3 separate regions of the Homo sapiens genome follow, and regions 1 and 2 are each linked to region 3. The links are contacts of gene promoters, found by promoter capture Hi-C in human tissues and cell types (Jung and others, 2019). All regions are on one chromosome and are shown on one strand. The core of a region is centred on a gene start or on the middle of the fragment in contact, and the rest is flanking DNA. Distances in the headings are between cores, read along the strand shown. Region 1 overlaps SORL1 (sortilin related receptor 1). Region 2 has its middle 61 kb from the start of SC5D. Region 3 holds the start of HSPA8 (heat shock protein family A (Hsp70) member 8).

The links. Contacts are between HindIII fragments. The study calls those that stand out against the background at their distance.
Region 1: a fragment that was not itself captured here is called in contact with the fragment with the promoter of HSPA8 in region 3 in 1 of the 25 tissues and cell types used here (hippocampus).
Region 2: a fragment that was not itself captured here is called in contact with the fragment with the promoter of HSPA8 in region 3 in 1 of the 25 tissues and cell types used here (dorsolateral prefrontal cortex).

Annotation. Positions count from the first base shown.
Region 1 is chr11:121,593,271-121,596,399 of GRCh38, forward strand. It overlaps SORL1 (sortilin related receptor 1), which reads left to right. Exons shown (of 48, transcript NM_003105.6): 32 at 2,353-2,502. Among named protein-coding and RNA genes, the nearest start is that of SORL1-AS1, 140 kb to the left of the region's middle. RefSeq lists an enhancer at 1,985-3,129. The HindIII fragment of the contact is 7,178 bases long and covers 1-3,129 here.
Region 2 is chr11:121,352,595-121,355,530 of GRCh38, forward strand. No RefSeq gene overlaps it. Among named protein-coding and RNA genes, the nearest start is that of SC5D, 61 kb to the left of the region's middle. The HindIII fragment of the contact is 4,702 bases long and covers 1-2,936 here.
Region 3 is chr11:123,060,534-123,063,576 of GRCh38, forward strand. HSPA8 (heat shock protein family A (Hsp70) member 8) reads right to left here and starts at 1,603. Exons shown (of 9, transcript NM_006597.6): 1 at 1,531-1,603; 2 at 587-796; 3 at 60-265. The coding sequence starts at 791. LOC124902775 (a long non-coding RNA gene) reads left to right here and starts at 2,129. Exons shown (of 2, transcript XR_007062927.1): 1 at 2,129-2,998. RefSeq lists enhancers at 1,352-1,521, 2,082-2,351 and a silencer at 1,672-2,061. The HindIII fragment of the contact is 26,894 bases long and covers 1-3,043 here.

The DNA of each region.
Region 1 (3,129 bases), core at 314-2,813, 1.5 Mb before region 3:
TCCAATGAAAACTATAGAATATGCACAATATCCTGAAGTTAATAATTGCTTTTTTCATTTGTTTGCTTAGGTTGTTTTGTACCATTTGCCAATGCTTTCTGCCTTTCAGTCGCCACTCAGGATAACTTTCCACAGGTCAACATGTCCAGGGATTTATCAAGTCCAGTTTTTCTCTTGGAGATACTCCTTCTAACAACGTGGATTCTCCTTTCGGGACAGATTGTTCTCTAGTCCTGCTGTGTGCCTGTTACCCAGGGACTTTCACTGCCTCCTTGGAATTCTCTTTGCCTTTCTCCCAGTTTAGATTCCTTGTTTCCTGGATCTTGTGTGTTGCTTTTTCTTGGTTTACTCCCTTGTTTGGGTGGAGTGCATCCTTCAGTAGCCTTGTCAGGTGAATATGATGACGCAGTGGCCAAGGACACTGTGATGACAGCTCTCAGGTGTTTGTCTCTTGAATTTTGCTGCTCTGGTTTGTATTGGTTGCCCTGTATACCTGGGGCACAACTGCCTTTTAGGACGTTGCACCATCATCATCTTCAGGATTTCCTTTACCTCCATCTCCTGTTGGAACTCCTGTTTTCTGTGTCCCAGTTTTTCTCTTTTTAGTTTAATCCCATGTTTCAGTAGAGCACGTTTTCTGGAAAATGCCTGAGAAAATGTATGTGGGAGGCCTGTGTGAGGTCTTGCTTGTCTTAAAGTGTTTTAATTCTGTCTTCAGACTTAATTGATAGTTGGGCTGGGTTTGGCGTGCTAGATTGTAAGTAATTTTCCTTCAGAGTTTTGAAGGTTTTGTTCCACTGCCTTCAAGCAGCTTTTCGGAAATCCAAAAGCCATTTTGATTCTGATTTTTTTTTTTTTGTATGTAACCTGTTTTTAATCCTCTAGAAGCTTGTAGAATCTTCCCTTTGGCACCAGTGTTTTAAAATTTCACAATGATGTGCTTTGCTCTGAGACCCTTTCCATCCAACATAGCGGACACTTGCATGCTTTTTGATATGGAAGTTTATATATTTTAGTTCAAGGAATTTTTCTTGAAGTTTTTATTAATGATATTTCCCTCTCTGTTTTCTCTTATTTCCTGGAACTCTTGTCATTCATATATTGTCTCCTGATCTGGTCTTCTTCCTTATTTTTTTGTTTAATCTTTTATAGTTTTGAAAATTCCCTTCCCCCACCCCCCCAATTTTCTAGGAGATTTACTCAACTTTATATTTCAACTCTTTGCTGAGTTTTTCATCTTTGTTGTCATGGTTTTAACTTTAAGAGCTTCTCCATTTTTACCACTGTCCCTTTTTATGGTATCCTGTTTTCTTTTTTTCTTGGATAAATAATATATTCTTTCTTTCTGAACGTATTAAGGATATTTGTTTTTGAAGTTTTCTTCTTGCAAAGCCTCTATTTCCTCCAAATGGCCTTTTTGGGGGTTAGGGCTCTGTTTGGCTTTCTGCCTTTCATGTCAAAGCCTTTTCTCAGATAGTTCTTGGTTGCTGCTTGTATTTAAGGCTGGGGACTAAAGTGCTGGTAAGTAATTCTGAGCACATGGGTGGGCTTGTCAACTTCGAGGTTCATGGCTGGGAACCATGGGGGAACTCTGAATCTTGGTTACTTCAGGGTTAGTCTCTGAAGCTGGTCATTTTCCCCAGAGAAGATTATTAGATCTCCTGCCTAGACAATAATTACCTTATTGCTAGGATCCTCGGAGAAGAGGACTGGGACTTCCATATGTAGGTTTAATCCCCCTTTTATCAGTAGGATATACTTGCTGTCAACTACGCCTATCTAAACAACTCTCTGTTTTTACTTTCTCCAAATAACAACCCTCCATTCTTCTATTGGGGTGACGTATGGGTTGGTTGCCTCGTGGGACTGATAGGAGGGGATATAAGGAATGTAGCTGCGTCTTAAACATCATTCAGTCAGTTCCCTTATTTTAACTCCTTCTTCACTTCCAGTTAGATGCCAGTTTCTGAACTTTTGGAGGACTGTGTGTTGTTGATCTGATTGGTTCTGAGCTTTCTCCTGTGACGGCTTAGGGTAGGACGCAGCCTTCGCTGGCCTCTTTAGTCACATACCGCTATCTGTCTTCTTTCCAGCTCCCAAATCTCATTATCCATGTCCTCGTGGATTTAGGTCTTTGAAAACAATCTCTTGACTGTGGCTTTAGTGGGATCCTGTGGGGAAGCAACATTAGATGTCTGTATCTACTCTGCTCTCTATCCGGAACTCGCATTTGTCTTCAGGTTCCCATTGTAATTTCTAAAGCACCGTAATCTCCTAGCATATTGATTGGTTGCTGTTATTGGCCAGCTCCCTCAATATTAAAAAGTAAATTTTAAAAATCTTTTATTTTAGCAAACGTCACTGCTGCCTCCACTCCCACCCAACTTGGGCGATGTGACCGATTTGAGTTCGAATGCCACCAACCGAAGACGTGTATTCCCAACTGGAAGCGCTGTGACGGCCACCAAGATTGCCAGGATGGCCGGGACGAGGCCAATTGCCGTGAGTAGTCAGAGAGCCCTTCACCCCCTGGGCACGTTTCTGCAGAGAGCACAGTTCTGGTGCTTCTGCTTCATTTCTGGATCAGCACACGCCTGTGTGTGAGTCTGTGTACTTGCGTAACCATGCTCTTACTGCATTCTCCACAAGCGCTTTGCCACGTGCACCCATACCATTGCGTTAGTCACCTTCTTTTTAATAAGTTGACTGCGTTTTAAATACCAGGAGCGTGTCCAATAAAAATACTTTCTGAATGACTAAGATAAATATTTTAAATAGGTTTCATAAGCATGTTTAACTCTTTAAAAACGCCCTTGGGGAAAGCCACAACTCTTCTGTATGTACATTCATTCTTCTGGAAGTATTTAGTGAGCACTTACTGGGCGTAGAAGCTGTGTTATTAGAGGGTTTGCCTCTAGCACCCCATTAAGAAAATTCATTCTCAGTCCTTAGGGTAATTATGGTTGGTGAGATAGTGTGCCGAGCCACATGGGGAATAATCACAGGGCCATCTGAGCCCAGTGTGAGGTGATGCATGCATTCTCTACGGGTTTGGAGTTGGTGGGTCCTGGTGTTTGGTCCTCTGATGAACCCAGGGAGGATCTTTGCAGTGAGTGATGGAGGGAGACA
Region 2 (2,936 bases), core at 249-2,748, 1.7 Mb before region 3:
CACAGCTGTGGATGCTGCCTCCCTTCCTAATTAGCATGAGAAATGTCATGTCCTTGGCAGCTCCCACTGCCTCTCTCTCAGTCCATAAAGCCAGTTGAGAGAGTTTTAGCAGCTGGGAGCCTCTTGTAGCCCTGCCAACCAGCCTTTCCCCAAACCCGAGGGAGCTGCCACCATCACTGCATTCTCTGCCAATAAGCCTGGCAAGAAAGCTGCTCTTCAGAAATTACTGCTTCTTAACAACCTTCTCCAGGACAACTCCTCACCTGACAGGCAACCCGAACCACAAAGGCCCTCTTGGTCTTCAGTACACCAAGTCCTCTAAAGCTCTAGCAACCAGCAGTAGCCTTTGCACAGAAACTGTAACATAAATGAGCTACACAAGTATCCTACACACAGAATATGAATTGCTCCACACAGAACATATGATACAAACATGAAGAAAGCGAATATCCTTCAATCTTGCATGTACTCATCAAGCATATTTATCAGTACCCTGGCACTGACAGCGAATGGGGCTCACTGCAATTAACTCGACCCTGGATTGGTGATTGAGACAGCTGTCAGTCCTGAGGAAGGGGCTGCTAGTTTCCCTCCACGTCTCATTCTCATTTAACCACCATCTCCCTCCTTCCATTCCTTTCACCCAACCCGTGACCAATCTCAGTGCAAATTATGCACCCTTACCGAACACTACATTGCAGGCCATTTGAGCACTCACAGCTGGACTCACCATCTGCATCTACCCACTCCAGTGGCTCAAACCTACTTACCTTCTAGGCTTTTTTTTTTTTTTTTTTTTTTTTTGAGACAGTGTCTCACTCTATCACCCAGGCTGGAGGGCACTGGTACAATCTTGGATCACTGTAACCTCTGCCTCCTGGGTTCAAGCAGTTCTCCTGCCTCAGCCTCCAGGGTAGCTGGAATTACAGGCACATGCCACCATGCCAGGCTAATTTTTGTATTTTTAGTAGAGGCAGGGTTTTGCCATGTTGGCCAGGCTGGTCTCGAACTCTTGACCTCAGGTGATCCACCCACCTCAGCCTCCCAAAGTGCTGGGAGTACAGGCATGAGCCACGGTGCTGGGCCAGTTTTTTAAATTTCAATTAAATACACTGCCCCAAACGTATTCATCCAAGTAAGAGCCCTAAGATTTTGCAAAAGGCCCTCTGCTCCTATCTTTCCTATTTCGATTCTATTGCAAACTCTGATTCATTCTAACTCTTTAAAATTTGTTTTTAAAAAAGTCAATGGATCTATGTTGTCCTTCTCAAGCCCAATTCTTCATTAGTTTCTACCCAAGTGAAGTTAACTTTGGCAGATCTAGTTGTATCTGTCCTACACACTTGCTATTCCTTCTTTTGGTAACTGCACCAGTTTATCTTTTAGGGAAGTGCCCTTCCTCCATTTCCTGAGGAAACTGATGGTCAAGATACACCTGCTGCCCCAGTCCACAGGAGTGGCCACATAACCATGGCCTGGACAATCATAGTGCCCAAAACTCTTGTCCATTGGGAGACATGTTCTACACAGAGCCCATCAGAGTGCTCCCATGAAATTTGATATAAGGATTCTGGGAAAAAGAGGGTCTCTTTTACTTCCGAACCAAAAGTTATATAGCTCTTGTTATTAAAAATATAGACTTGAGGTTTCCAGCAACCATCCTTCCTGCCATTGGACATAATCTGTCTGTGGTATTAGAGAACATAACACATAAAGAAAAGAGAAAACTAGCAGAGTCAAGAAATGGAGAGACACTTGATGTCCTTGTTTGAGCTCCTGGATCCAGCTGTGCCTGAAGCCTTTGCACTCTATTATGTGACTGTGTCTCTCTCCCCAGAAATTTAGCTTAGCTAGTTTAAGTTGGTTTTTGTGTGTGTGTGAATTGTAACTGGAATATTGACAAATACCCCTCTAGATGGTTTTCTTGCTTCTAGTCTCACCCTGCTTTCTTCAGTCTGTCTCCCTGACAGAGTAAACTTCATAAAATACATCATGATTTATAAAATATATATATAGATAACATGCAAACAAGAGTGTTATTTCCTTGTTTAAGAAGCATCAGTGACTCCACATGACCTACAGGATTAAGTCCAAACTCCTTATCATGACATGTTAGGCTCCTGTGCTCTAGTGGCTATTTCTCCATTCTCACTTTTAATCATTACCTCTCTTGTCCTCTTCATGCTCCTAAACACTGTCACCATCTCATCCTCTAGCTTCGCAAACATTCTTGTCATTTCTTTAGCTTGACTTGCTGTTTCCATATTGTTTTTCCCTCATCATTGTTTTTTGTCTGCCAGGTGAACTCATAACCATCCTTTGGACCCCAGCTCAAGAGATGCTGACTTCTTCAGGTAGAGTTGGTGAATCTCTCCTTTGTGCCCCACTATATCCTATACAGACCTTTATTGTAGTATATGTGATGGCTTATTTACATGACAATCTCAACCACTGGACAAAAGCTTATTTGGGGTCAAAGCTCACATCTTGACTTTGAGCTCCCAGCACTTAGCACAGTGCCTAATATAGTAGGCACACAGTAAATATTTGATAAATGAGTGATTGAGCAAATGAGTTAATAAAAGCCCTAAAGAGTATACCCTGAGGATAGCATGGCTCAGAGAGGTTATGCCAACAATCACATTTAAACACATCTAGGACAAGCAGGCTTGACTAGTTACCTGTTTATCTCTCTCCATCCTCATTTCTATCTCCATCTTATCACTGTGCTGTTCCAAACTGGAAGACATGGATAACTGATGAAGTAAAATTCAAGTTTTTCTCCCTGTGATATTGTGAAATATATATTTGGTCTTCATCCCCATTTCCTGGCATACAACTCCTAAATACTCCTAATCTCTAAGGTGATTTTTTTGTATGCTAATAAGTTGACTGACGGCTGTCAGCCCCTATGTGTCTTCAGGATGGGATTGGTC
Region 3 (3,043 bases), core at 353-2,852:
GGAGTCATCGGGCTTTTAACTACTCCGGAATGCACCCCATACTGAAAAACCAACCTCACCTTCCCAAGGTAGGCTTCTGCAATTTCCTTCATCTTTGTCAGAACCATAGAAGACACCTCCTCTGGATAGAAGCTTTTGGTCTCTCCCTTGTATTCTACTTGGACCTTGGGCCTGCCAGCATCATTCACCACCATAAAGGGCCAATGTTTCATATCAGACTGGACAACAGCATCATCAAATCTGCGTCCAATCAGACGTTTGGCATCTGTAAAAGGTGTCAAATGAAAACACTTTCAATTTCATAGCTCTTCTGATAAAACTCAAGTCCATGATTACTCAAATACCTAACAGTTCATAGGTAGGTGAATTCAACTACCATATAGGTAGCAAAGGTTCAAACTTCAACCTCCTACGTTATCCAGATTTCAGCCTGAAAGGTTTCTACAACCTGTTTTATAACAGACTTGATAACAAGTCTCTCAGCTCAGTTTTTCTAAAATCAAAAAGTTCCCTCCTCACGTTTCATAAACTTTTGTGCTTCCTAGCCCTGTTATATTTGTTCTGTCATTTAAAATTAGGAACTCACCAAAAACTGTGTTGGTGGGGTTCATTGCAACTTGATTCTTTGCGGCATCACCGATCAACCGTTCAGTGTCCGTAAAGGCGACATAGCTTGGAGTGGTTCGGTTTCCCTGATCATTGGCAATTATCTCGACTTTTCCGTGCTGGAAAACACCCACACAAGAGTAGGTGGTGCCAAGATCAATACCAACTGCAGGTCCCTTGGACATGGTTGCTGAAAAAAAGAAAAATCTGGTTTAAAAATTCAATTAATCAAAATATTTCCCTCATCCCTTAACAGAACACTTAACCAGGAAAAACGTATGGCCACTGCCAAGAGGTAATAGTGCCCATCACCTCCTGTCTAAGCACGCGCGAGGTCCAGAACTAGTGCTGCAGTCCAGGTTGCCGTGCCAACCGCAGCAGAGCACGCCCTAGATGAAGGACCCATCTACCCAGACGGCGTGGGGCGTTGCTCAACACGTGGTCTTACCCCGAACTGAGCACTGTCTGTTCCCCTCCCTCGCCAGGTGCCAGTGCCCCCGGGAGTCAACGGGCTTTTAACTACTCCGGAATGTACCCCCATACTGGAAGCACGCCAAGAACAGCTCTGAAGAACCACGGTGGGACTGGACTAAGCAGGGAACTGGGTGAAAGAAAACGCTGGCTCCACTTCCCCGCGCGCCAGGCAAACCGATGCAGCAACCCTCCCCCGCCACGCGGCCGCCGGGCGTCTCCCAGCCTCCCCTGGGGCCACTGCGGCCCACTCCCTACATTTCCGTCCTGCCGGCTGCAACCAAATACCGCTGCCATCCCACCGAAAACTGAGGCCCTTTAAGCCGGTAGAAGGAGCCGCACACTCGCCTCGACGAGATTCTCAGAACCCCCAAGCCTCAGCAAGCCCAACAGGCCTGTGTGGAGGCTGCACGCTCCCAGACCCACAACCCAACTCTTGAGCAGAGGTTTTACCTGGGGTGTAGGCCTGGCTCCAATAACGAAGGAAGCCACAAAAAACCCAAGAGCTGCAGGCGAGTTCAATGAGACCGGTTTCCGCCCGCCACCCTGCCTCTTATACCCTATCTTAGAACCTTCCAGAAGGGGCCCGCCCCTGCTGCCTGCCATTACGGCTTCCCCGGCCAATAGACGCCCGGCTGCCCTTACAAGACCCAATCACAAGCCCGGCTCCACTCCTCGGGCCTCGCCCCCTTCCGCACCCACCCCACCGCGCTCCGCCTCACGATAACGCACTCACCGCAGCGTTCTGGAACTTTCAAGCTCGCCCCCGCTCTCCGGACGGCCCCGGGGAAAGGGAGGGTGGGGCGCAGCGAGTCCGCGCGCGGGAGTCCTCAGTTACCCCGGGCGGGGGAGGGGAGCGTCCACCTCTACGCATGCGCCCCCAGCTTCCGCGGGAGGGAGGGGGCGGAAAAAGGAGGAGGAAGAGGGGCGGGCAAACTTGGAACTAACCAATGATAGCGGCGCTAGCCGGGATCTTGGCCGGCACAGAACTGGGGGCGGAATCGCGCGGGGCCTGAAGGGAGGGGTTTGGGCGCGGGAGCCGGGCAGGAGAAGACGGAAGTGGAGCGAGGACAAAATGGCTGCGAAGGTTGTTGCTCCCCTCCCCCACCCACGTCCGAATCCTCCTTTCCATGCCCCACCTTCGTGTTCCAGACGGGCCTCTAAGTGCCCCGGGTTTCGCGAATCTGTATTTCATAGCGTGGCTTTGGACAAGGGCTGACCCCGAGGGGCTGGGGCGAAGGTTCCGGCTTCAGGGTGCCACTAGGGCTGCTCGCTCACGGCCCCCCAGGATTGGGATTGGAGGGAGCCGCCAGGCCGCCGCGGGGTGGGGCGGGTTAGCTCGGCAGGCCTCCCAGCACCTGCATTTCCCTACGGCAACTGTCGGGAGGCAGCCCCCGACGCAGAGGTTTAAGGGGCCCGGCTTTTCAGAACCGCCTCAGGACGCGGTCGTGTCTGGATCCCTCCGCGGAAAAGAAGGCGAAACCGCTTCTCTGAGCCCTGACCGTTAGGCCCCTTCCCACCTCCGTCTAGAACAGATTCGGCTTCTTGGCTCAGTCCTTCCCCAACTAGCCCAAGCCCTACATTTCCCCGTTGTTTATAAAATAAACAGGTTTAAATGGTGGCGAGTGTGTTCTTGGTTAGGTGAACCAGGCATTAGGAATCATAGGTTCCAGTAGCCGTGCGTCCTTGATTTAGACTTTCTGAACGTTTGTATTTTCAGTAACATGAGGTGATATCTTTCCTGGTTTGACTTTCATCAAAAATTAAACGACAGACCATACCGACGCTTTGAAAACGTGACTGAGCTGGTGCACAAAACAATGGTGCCTAGAATTTTGAATTGTGCAATGTTGTGCATGGCCGCGGATATGTGGGGCCTTGTGGTTCCAAGAGCCTGTCTCAGGTACCTTGAACACTCCCTGTATCCTTTCAAGCAGGCGAGGTAGCTGTTATTCCTATTTAGTAG